Regions from separate parts of the Homo sapiens genome. Here regions 2, 3 and 4 are each linked to region 1. The links are contacts of gene promoters, found by promoter capture Hi-C in blood cells and fetal thymus (Javierre and others, 2016). All regions are on one chromosome and are shown on one strand. The core of a region is centred on a gene start or on the middle of the fragment in contact, and the rest is flanking DNA. Distances in the headings are between cores, read along the strand shown.

Region 1 (2,611 bases), core at 62-2,561:
CAAACATATTACAAGTGTCTGAGGCTATGAGATTTCTTCTCTGTCCTCAACTGAGCCCAGAGACAGTGCTGTTGAAACTCCTAGAATGCTTGCCTCTAGATGTCAAACTGCTTCCTCCATTCAGCCTAGTGTGCTTTACAAATACTATGCTTTTCTCTGCATGCCATGACACAATAAAGGTTGTGAAGGACTGCTTTAATGCACACCATTCCCAGAGTTTGGAAAGTGCTGCTCCATTCTCTTCTCTAAGTTCTAAGTACCCTTCTATGCCAAGTTCAAGTCTCACCTTTCTGATAAAGCAGTCTTTGATGCTACATATCCAACCTCAAAATTCTTGTATGATGTGACCAGACCACTCATTTGGCACTTAGTATATGTGCTGCTATTTAACTTTTTATGGTGAGACCTTATCTCTCTGTGTTGTCTGTTGCTTAAGAGCAACAATTTTTATACCGACTTTTGCACCCAGGGCCTTACCATACAGTAAGACACTCAGTATATTTTTACAATATTAATGAATAAATTAATTAATGAATAGATAGTTAAATTCCATCAGATGGTGCAATGGACAAGAACATTAGATTCAGAATCAGAGAATCTGGATTCTAGTGCACTTTGCCACTAGATGGTTGTGTGAGACTTCAGGAAAGTTGCTTGCCTTAGTTGCCTCATTCACAAAATAGGAACAATACTTCCCATTGTGACTTCCCAAGTTGAGATGGGATAATTTATGGAAAAAATATTTGGCAGATGAAAAGAGCATGTCGTTCATGAGTAATGCCAAAAGAGGCAGTGTGGAAGATAAAGAATGAGCTCAAAGAAGCTGCAGAAAACATTAGAGGGTTCATGGGTGAAAAAAAAGCCAAAGGGGTAAGGGAAATTTGCTAGCAAAGTAGACTTGCCCAGGAGTGATTGAGAAAGGATGATAAACACAGAAGAAAGAAAAATCAAGTTTCTGTTGCGAAGCAGTATAACACAGCCACTAGATCCAGACTGCCTAGGTTCAAAGCCTGGCTCTGGCACTTAACCAGCTATGTGACCTTGAACAAGTTATTTAACATCTCTGAACTTCAGTTTACTCATATGTATTATGGGGGCAATAATAATGCCTATTTCCAGGGAAGTGTTATAAGATGTAAAGGAGTTAATACTTATAAAGTACTTAGAGCAGTGCAGACCAGTGCCTAGCATATAGAGCGTTATAGAAGAACGTGTTAGATAAAATAATAATCTTCTCCTTACCAGGCAATACTCCAGTCCTCATGGCTGGCACTTTCTCCTGGGACCTGGAGCAGGGCTCACGAAAGTTCTGACTTGCTCTCCAGTGGGCACGTCTCCTTTCCACATTCCAGAGCCCAGTCCTCTGAGCTTAGCCTATCTCACTGCTCAAAGGACACTATGTTTCCCAGCCTACAAAGTTTCTTTTCAATTCTTTAGCCTTTTTCAAAACCCAATAGAGTTCCTTGTGAGAACAGATAGGAGTGAATTCCATAAGCTCCCAGAAGCAAATACAGACAGTATAATCTAATCTTTTAGAGCAATGGCTTTGTAATCAAGCAAAAGAGAGTTTGAATCAGGGCTCTGTAAATGACCAACTGAGTGACCTTGGACAAATCCAAGGTCTGAGCCTCAGCTTGCTTGTCTTCAAAATGAGGCCTCACAGGTGGTTGTCAGGATCAAATGAGAAAATGGACATGATGCATTCAGTATAGGGCCTGGCATGTGGTAAGCACTCAGAAAGTGTTAGCTCTTATCATTAATAATTCCTAGGATTATGGGTCTCGATTTTCCCAACTCTAGAATGTAATTTAATAGCACTATAGCTCTTATCCACTATTCCTCTGTCATCTCAATTTGACCCTTCCAAACTAAAAAGGTGCAAAAAAATATTCTTGGTGTGATAAGTTGACAACACTCTGCATTTTACACTCCCTTTGAGGTTTATGCCCAGTTTAAAAGAATTACAGAGAAAGAACCCGCAACTCTAAGTATGCTTCAGATTTCCATATGTCTGTAAATGCCTCAAAGACAGCAGTGGTCCTCTTAGCCTAGGGTGAACATCAAAATCACCTATTTTTATTTTTAATTTCATTAAATATAATTCTTCTGATAAAATGGCAAAGAATTTTTTTTCAAAATCCTTGCTTTTACCCTAGAAATGATACTCCTCATGAAACAAATGTCCAATGGGGAGACAGAGGGCCAGGCAAGTATATTTTGCAAAAGTTATCCAAGTCAGTCTCGTAAACACCCCTGATGTGAGAGAGGGACTGGAACATGCATTTGGAGGATGAGGCCAGGGTCTTGCCTTGAGAAAAAATCCAAGAAGGGCAAGTATAACCACTCTGCTTCCCACACAATGTGGGTATGTAGAAACATGCCCTGCACCCACAGGGAAGAGCATAGTATTTTCTCCTGCATGCATTAATCACAGAGGATTTCCCTCCTATAGTTATACAAGCATCATCCTTGACACATCAGTTGGAGAACTGTACTCAGTGAGAATACAAGATTCATCCAGCTTTGAAAATGTAACTATATCTAACAACTGGATTAAATATATTTCATGCCCAAAGATCTAATACTATTTAAAGCCTACAGCAAGGAAGAA
Region 2 (2,611 bases), core at 42-2,541, 210 kb after region 1:
TATGGGGCAGGGCAGAAAGAGCAGCCTCCATTAGAGGAAGCTGTAGGCAAGAGACAGGAAGGCTCTGTGCCCCATGCAGAGCTGCCGGTGGGGTTGGGAGTGGTTTGTAAGAAATATAGTTTGTTAATTAGCTTGATTCAATCATTCTGCATTGTATACATATAGCGTAGCATCACCTTGTACCCTACACATATATAAAAGCATAATTTGTCAGTATCTAATAAAAATTAAATTTAAAAATACTGTAACACAGAAAAAAAAGAAATAGAGTTCCAGAGGGCCACAGGCAACAAGTTTGAAGGAAAGGAAACAGGGAAATGAAGGGACAGGCCAGAGGAAGAAAAGAGCAGTGTGGATGAGAGAGGTCCCATGTACTGTGACAGTGCATAAGGTCTGCAACAATAAGGGATGAGTGGGTTTCCCACAAGGCGCCACCTACCCACCCACCCCAAACCATAGGAAGAGGCACTATATGCTCAAGCAGGACCTTGCCTTTCAGGAAAACAGGGTTCCTGGGCATGGGAGATACCTATAGGAGAGCTGTCTTGTACTGGGTAAAAATTGCTAAGCCATTTATTTCTACAAAATTACAAGCGACTTCTAGGGAACAGAAGCCCCAGACTCTCGGCTTTCTTGGTTTACAGAAAACTAATCTTCTGACAGCTTGCTTCAGATCCATTCTCCCTCTGCAAGGCCTAGGTCCAAGGCTTGGGATCAAAGGTGAAGAAATCCAGATGTTTCTCTCAATGCTCATAATTCCCCCCAAGTGAACAGCAGATGGCAGTAAAGAGCTGGAAAGGGAGATGGGAGATGAGCCCTCAAAATAGCTCAAAGTTGGCCAGATAGAAGGTACTGGGGCCCATCAACTTCTGCGGGGTGGTAGATGCTCTCATTGAGGTCCTGGAGTAAAAAGTCAGTTTGGTGAGATCACTCCACTGGTGCTGCAAGCTAAACCCTCACTGCACCAGGGTATCTATTGGTTATTAGCAATAACAGAGCATACTGTCTCTCATTACAGCCCTACTATCTCTCACCTCGCCACTTAGGGAACTGGGCTATCGGGAGGATCTGCTCTAAGGAGATACAATTATCTTAGAGTTAGCCAAGTCTTGAGGATGTGGCTTCCTGGATTATTCTTTTGGAGGGAGGAAAGATGGCTACTTGGTATTTTCCATGTCAGACCAGTCTAACCCAGCTACCTGACAGATTTTTATGGTGACCTTAGAGTACAAATATGTTTAAATAACAGCCATGCAGATTTGGCTAGGACTTCCATCACACACCTCAGAAGCCAGGAACGATGAGTAGCAGGGTTCTGAGGCCCAGGAACACCTATCTGCCTGGTTCTATTCAGAATGTGTGTATTTCTGAGACTTAATATTAAGAGGCTGTTTCCTGTGCCACAGGGGACAGACCTGAGAAATGGCACAAGTCTCCTGGATATTGGAACTTCAGACTTTCCTTAAAGCCTCGTGAGGAAAATAGTGCTTTTACAGCAAATTAAAAGGAAGTGTTTTGGGACATCGTGAGACCCCAAGTGGCCGCACAGGGTAAAAGCAGTCTCAAAGAATATTTAGGCAAGTATGGAGAACTGATAGAAATCAAGGCATAGGAGGCAAATCTCTGGACTATAAGTAGACTCCATCCTGTAATATGTTCCTGGGTTGACCAGTCCTTGGGGCTATCTCACACCAGATCTTAAGATCTGCCGGAATGCCTGATTTAGAGCATCCACGCATAAGCCAAGAAGCAGCAGTGCCCAGCAGAACTCCCAGACTATCTTCCAGTGAGCTCAAGGGCCCATGTGGCCTCATGCCACTTTCAGTATGGTAGAAATGAAACCCTTGCTGCCTGGAGTGAGGTAGGAGCAGAAAAGTCTCAGCAACTGAGATAGAGAGGCTGGGGCTAAAACTAAAAGAGGATGACTTCCAGTCACAGGGCCTTTCAGAAAGTAAAGAACACTGAGAAGGAGTGGCTCTCACAACAAGCCTAGATGGATAGGCACCCCTTTCCTTTTGTCTGTTACACAATAGAGGGAAGGGATAATCTAAGGGTCACTGAGAGGTTACAAATAGATCAGCTTCCTTTCCAGGCTGCCTCTACCAGGTTGGTGGTCTCTCCCTCTTCACCAAATGAAGGTTTTCAGTGGTTTATTTTACATGGGTGACCACCACTCTTTCACCTGCCTCTCCCCTCAATCCCATAATTGCCCTGGTCCCCGGACTTCTTGCCCCTTACAATATCTTCTTTTGTTCTTGAGGGGACCGAGTGCTTTACTCTCTCCTTCTATCCCACACTGCACATTGAGGCAGGGGGAAGGCACAAGTACAAGAAGGTGACAGTGTGGGGGGCTCCATGCAAACACAATGCCACCATCAAGAACCCAAAGCCCAGGCCCTGTGACAGACAGTCAGCAGCACCATAGTCACCCAGTGAAGGGTGGGTCTAAAAAGTCCCCAGACCCCTTGCAGGCCTCGTCCATTCCCATCTCCCCACTTCCTGGTGCCCGGCATAAATTATGTTGAAGAAACTCAGTCAAGCGGCAGCTGAAGATCCTGGGAAGCACCCAAGAGGCTGTGACTCCCAAAAACAGAAGGGAGAGGTTAGGTGT
Region 3 (2,611 bases), core at 46-2,545, 180 kb after region 1:
CAGCAAAATTGAGCAAAATGTATAGACAGTTCCCCCATATTTCCTATACACCCATCACACACACAGCCTACCCCACTATCAACATCCTGTATCAGAGTGGCACATTTGTTACAACTGATGAACCTACACTGATACATCATTATCATCCAAAGTCCAAAGTTTACATTAGGGTTCACTTTTGGTATTGTATATTCTATGAGTTTTGACAAATATATAATGAAATGTATCCACCATTATAGTATTACACAGAATAGTAGTCTCATTGCCCTAGAAACCCTCTGTGCTTAGCCCATTCATCTCTGTATCCTCCTAACACCAGGCAACCACTGACCTTGATCACTCCTTTTTAATAATCATAATAGCTAACATTTATTGAGTGCTTACTGTGAAGAACCATGTTATACACTTTTCAATAGCCTTATGAGTTTCCCATTTTACAGAATAAGAATCAAGTTCAAAGAAGTTGTCACTTATCTGAGGCCACGTAGCTGTGAAGTGGCAAAGCCAGGATTCAAAAAAAGTTTGTCAGGCTCCAGAGACTGAGCTTTTTCCCATTCACTGTTGTCTTGATGAGGATGATGATGGTGACAATGGTGGTGGTAATGGTTGTGGTGATGGTAGTGGTGGTATCTAACAAATGTGCTGCCAGGTACTGTGCCAAGTGCCTTATGTGCCTTTTCTATTCAATCCTCACAATAGCCTATGAGGTAGATGCTATCATTATTGCCATTTTGTAGATGAGCAAACTGAGGCTCAGAGGTTAGTTAACAATCTCAAATGCACAGAACCTACTGAGTGGCGGCTAGTGACTACAACTATAATTGAAGATTTTATTTTGACGATCTGCTATCTCTCTTTAGCTCTGAAGATGGCAAAGGTGTAGGACTAGGCCTATCCCTGAAAACTGATTGGTTGGTTTGGTTTTTGAAGTTCAAAATCCAGGGACTTAGCCTTGATATTATTTGGTTCTTTTACAAGCATACATGAGTTCTGACGGCAGTGCTCTCCTATGGGCAAATCTGACTCTGCCCTTGGCTGTCCAGCCTTAGTCATTGTCTTTCTAGTCAGGGGAGGACCGCCCTCAGGCTTCTGGGTACACGACTAGATCTCAGAAATAGCACCCTAATCGGCCTCATCAGCTTTGAAGGAAGCCACTGCAGGAGGGGCCTAAGTAGGCCAACACTTTAACCCAGTTACGTGAGGGCAGCTGTAATCCAGGCTGATCATGTCTTGCTAAGCTCTCTGGGGGAGAAATGTCCAAAAGCGGCTTCCTGTGACCAAGTATCCCTAGATCTCACTATGCAGACACTCCTCTTCCCTTCTGGAAGAGGTTGGCCTAAAGGTTACAAGGGCAGAGCTTAATTTGAGTGACTGCCAGGACTGAGGGGATGTTGGTGGCAATTCCTAACTGCAGTGAAATGCCCATGGCTCAGGGTGCCCTAGGACAAAGTGCTGCTTTTCCTTGAAAGGCTTACTACCTGACTCTTCTTCCACCTTGTTGGAGGAGGTAGGGAAATCATTGTGTTCTTCTGCATGGGCCAGACAGCCACTCACATCAACCCAGGGAGTTCAGGACACATTGGGCTTCACACCCCCACCCCTACTTCTGCCAGCTCACCTCACCTCTGGCAATGACTAGCCCTAGGAGTTCCCCAGGGAAGCAGGCTGAGTTGTCTGGCCAGGCTGCTGTTGGGGAAAGAAAGAAACCAGAGCTATTGGGGCTGGCTGGCCTAGCTTGTCTGACTCCTTCCCTGTCATTTGGCACGGTGGGCTCCCTTATGCAGGTATACTCTGCCTCTTCCCTCTCATGTCCCACAAACCATCTGTCCCAAGAGAGAGCTCAACAAAGTGGGTCCCCTTCTGGTCAAGAAGCAGAAGCCTTGCCTGGCCTGGGTGGATGCTGGCAGGGAAGAAAAAGAGGAGTGTTAGAATGAGGCTGTATGCTAAAAGTCTGTATATTTTTCCAAAAGGGTTTTCTCTAGCAAGAAGATGACTTTCATGGGAGAAGAGGAAGAGGAGTCTAAGTTAACAATTACAGTATTTCATTGACTCTAATATGCCTTAGATTATAAGATGTCTGTTATTTTATATACTGCTGAAAAAAAAAGGTGCTGATTAAACTGTCATGCCACTGATTTTAAGATGCATTCCAATTTTAGTGATGTTAAAATGTGAAAAAAATGTGTCTTAGAGTCCATGAAATAAACTGAGGTATCACCTGTCCTACACACAAACACCCACTCACATACACACCACAGACCGCAACCACACAGGGCACATTAAGGCAGAGTGGGTATGAGTGCAGTCAAAACCCCAGCTAACCTCTGTGCTCTGGGAACAAGCATAGTAACCAAACTGTCTGGAAATAGGAACCCCTTCCACTGGACAGAACTTTATAGAGCCCTCTCACACCCACTGGTCTCACTGGATTCCTCATAGATGTCCTGTGGGGTAAGCTAGACAAGGATATTTACTACTATTTTACAAATGGAGTTCAGGAAAGGTATGACTTTGCCAAGGGCACTCGGGACCTGAAAGGGAAGAACTGGGAGAGCAGGCCCTGCCTGCTCAGTCCTGCTACAATGCTGGTTTGACTACTACAGGACAACAA
Region 4 (2,611 bases), core at 75-2,574, 150 kb after region 1:
GTGGAGCTGGGGATGCATAATCCCTAAACTGGATAATCAACCCCAGAATAATCAAGATATATTTTAGGGTCTTAACATTAATCTTGATATTTAATCATTCTGAACAATGTTAAAAACAAAAGATTGTATAATAGCATTAATAAAAATCACTTGCTATGGAATGGTTCAGAATAAATATGGCTTTCTTTTTAGCATGAAATATGAATCCGTTGAACTGGTCTTAATGTTCTATCAGCACACACAGATACAGCTCTGCTTAATTCCATATCCTCTTATCTATAAGTCCTACATTTAATTTACTACCATTGGGGTTGATTTTTAGCTTTGCTTAGCAAAAGTAGTCTTGATTAAAAGAATATTATCGCAACTGATGGACCTCGAAAGCATTTTTTTCATAGACCATCTAGTAATTTTGAAAATGACCTGCAGACCCATAAGGCTAGATTTGCAAGTTTCCAGTTTGTACCCACCTGGCTGTACTTCAAACAGTGGCAGGATTAGTTAGGGGTATGTTTAGTGACATAGTATTCCCACATGCTGCCCCCTCATCCATACGTAGAAAGTTACCGTGGTAGTGTTTTAAAGATCTGCTTCGGGGAATCCCAGTTCCCTGGTTCGCTGATCTTTTATCTAGTTTATAATTGCAACTATAGCCTTTGTCTCTTGGGATGTTGCTGGGCCAGAGGATTCTCCAATATGTATAAGGGAAGATTCAATTATGCATGAGGGTTACATTTTGGAGTTGTAGCTGTGACAGATGCCTCCCTGAAACAATATGGAATTAGTTTTGGTGCTCATTTCATTGCAAAGCCAGTGATTTCCACAGGTTGGCCAGAATTGGTCATTCTCCACAGCAGGCCATGTTCTCCTTCTCCTGTTTTGATTGTTCAGTATGACTATTTAGTGGCTTGTGGTTCTAGGAGTAAAGAAAATGCTGTTGCTCAAGAGGTAACAGAAAGAAAGCTACTATGATTTTGTTAAGAACATTATTACCATTCTCCTAATTCTACTAGCTGAAAAAAATGAGTCACTCTGGTTTGGGCTTTGTAGCTTTGTGGGAGTATTTTTGACCTATGAAAAAAGTTCATAAAAAGAATTCACTTTAAAACCACTATACTTACAGTTCAATTTACAGGGGCTTTCAATTGTTCAGAGTCATAGGAACCCAGAAAAGAATTAAAAGTTGTAAATGTGGTACTAAATCAAAATTGGAGAATTTGGGGTTTTTTTCTTATCAAATTTGATGGTAGGACCTTCTCAAAATGCAGAGTAAATAAAGCAGTCTTATTCGTGAGTAATTTTTGTTTTGGCCAATATGTCCTTTGTATCCATACACACACAGCTTTATTGTGATACCATTCACATACCATACAATCAGTCTTAACTTCTTTTAATTATTAAATTACTAGACATTAAAAATCTGATATTTTTGTTCAAGAACACAGGATGTACTCCTATAAAGAAAGGACTTAAGTGTCTAAATTAACCCCATTTGCCTAAATCACTTTTAAAAATCTTAGTATGTAGCCACAGTTTGTCAGAACTAGAATGCTTATTAGAGGTTATCTAGTTCAATTAGAATAAAAATTACCTGGGGAGCTGTTCTTTTTCCAAAACGTATTTGTTGAAATTCTGATAAACTTTGCAGCCCCGCTCCCCACCCCTTGCCAGTTAAATATCATTAATTTTGTCTGACACTCTCATCTCACAGATAGGGAGACATTCTTCCTATCACAATTTTGACTAGACACCTTAATAAACACCAAAATTCTTTTCAATTTTAACATGACGGGTTTTTGATAAATAGAGTTGAAGATTCAAAATTCACTTCAGTGGATGATGGAGTATAAATTACTTATGCTGTGTATCTTTTAAAAAACAAATTATGAGGAATCTGATATTGTCAAAGGAAAAAAAAATTCAAAGCTACTGATCAGGAAGTCAGTATACAGGAAATTTTGCAAATTTGTCATTGTCTCATCAGGCACTGGAGAGATTAGTAGATGTCCTTTATCCTGGAAATGCCTGATAGCTAAGCGCTCATATTTCTTCTCAGCTATATACGTAGTTATTTCCCACACAGTATGGGAGGCAAGTATTGTGTTAGTTTTTAAACAGCTACCCTGGTCGCATTTTTAGCAGAAAGAGATTCGTAAGAGTACTGATATTAAATAGATAGAAGAAATAGCCAGAGATATGCTTTAATAAAAATAAAAAACCATAAATTCCTCAGAAGATCTGACAGGCTCTAATGGATAGATGTGTGAAGACCTGGGGAAAGATGAAATGGATTTTCCCAGAGGACTTTTTATTCCTGAAAAAATTGGAAAATTTGAGACTGGGGGTAGAAGAAGCAAAAGAAGTTTTCATTGACCCCCTTTCCTCTTCTAGACCTTTACATCCATACACATGGAAAGTATAAAGGTTTATGACTTTACTCACCTGCTCTGAAAAGAAGCCTCCATCTTGGGTAATAATGTTTACCTGGTCTTACATCTCCATTCCAGTACCTTGCACAACCTGACCCTCCACTTGGGAACCATTGATCTGAGGCAACCACAGATCCAAGAGAACAGAATGGTGTCATTATGCTTTTGAAATTTCGTTTTTA

The links. The method cuts DNA at HindIII sites, captures the fragments that hold promoters and counts their contacts. A CHiCAGO score of 5 or more calls a contact.
Region 2: a fragment that was not itself captured here is called in contact with the fragment with the promoter of RTL9 in region 1 in 2 of 17 cell types (activated CD4 T cells and non-activated CD4 T cells); the score reaches 6.4 in activated CD4 T cells.
Region 3: a contact is called between a fragment that was not itself captured here and the fragment with the promoter of RTL9 in region 1, in 6 of 17 cell types (total CD8 T cells, naive CD4 T cells, naive CD8 T cells and 3 more). The highest score is 7.3, in total CD8 T cells.
Region 4: a fragment that was not itself captured here is called in contact with the fragment with the promoter of RTL9 in region 1 in 4 of 17 cell types (non-activated CD4 T cells, activated CD4 T cells, naive CD4 T cells and 1 more); the score reaches 6.7 in non-activated CD4 T cells.

What each region holds. Positions count from the first base shown.
Region 1 is chrX:110,357,548-110,360,158 of GRCh38, reverse strand. RTL9 (retrotransposon Gag like 9) reads right to left here and starts at 1,311. Exons shown (of 4, transcript NM_001385449.1): 1 at 1,243-1,311. It also overlaps a transcript of AMMECR1 not described here. The HindIII fragment of the contact is 7,244 bases long and covers 1-2,611 here.
Region 2 is chrX:110,144,912-110,147,522 of GRCh38, reverse strand. The region is part of intron 5 of TMEM164 (transmembrane protein 164); the gene reads right to left. Among named protein-coding and RNA genes, the nearest start is that of MIR3978, 64 kb to the right of the region's middle. The HindIII fragment of the contact is 4,211 bases long and covers 1-2,611 here.
Region 3 is chrX:110,181,595-110,184,205 of GRCh38, reverse strand. It overlaps a transcript of TMEM164 not described here. Among named protein-coding and RNA genes, the nearest start is that of SNORD96B, 42 kb to the left of the region's middle. The HindIII fragment of the contact is 5,837 bases long and covers 1-2,611 here.
Region 4 is chrX:110,203,497-110,206,107 of GRCh38, reverse strand. All of the region lies in intron 3 of AMMECR1 (AMMECR nuclear protein 1), which reads left to right. Among named protein-coding and RNA genes, the nearest start is that of SNORD96B, 20 kb to the left of the region's middle. The HindIII fragment of the contact is 2,983 bases long and covers 1-2,611 here.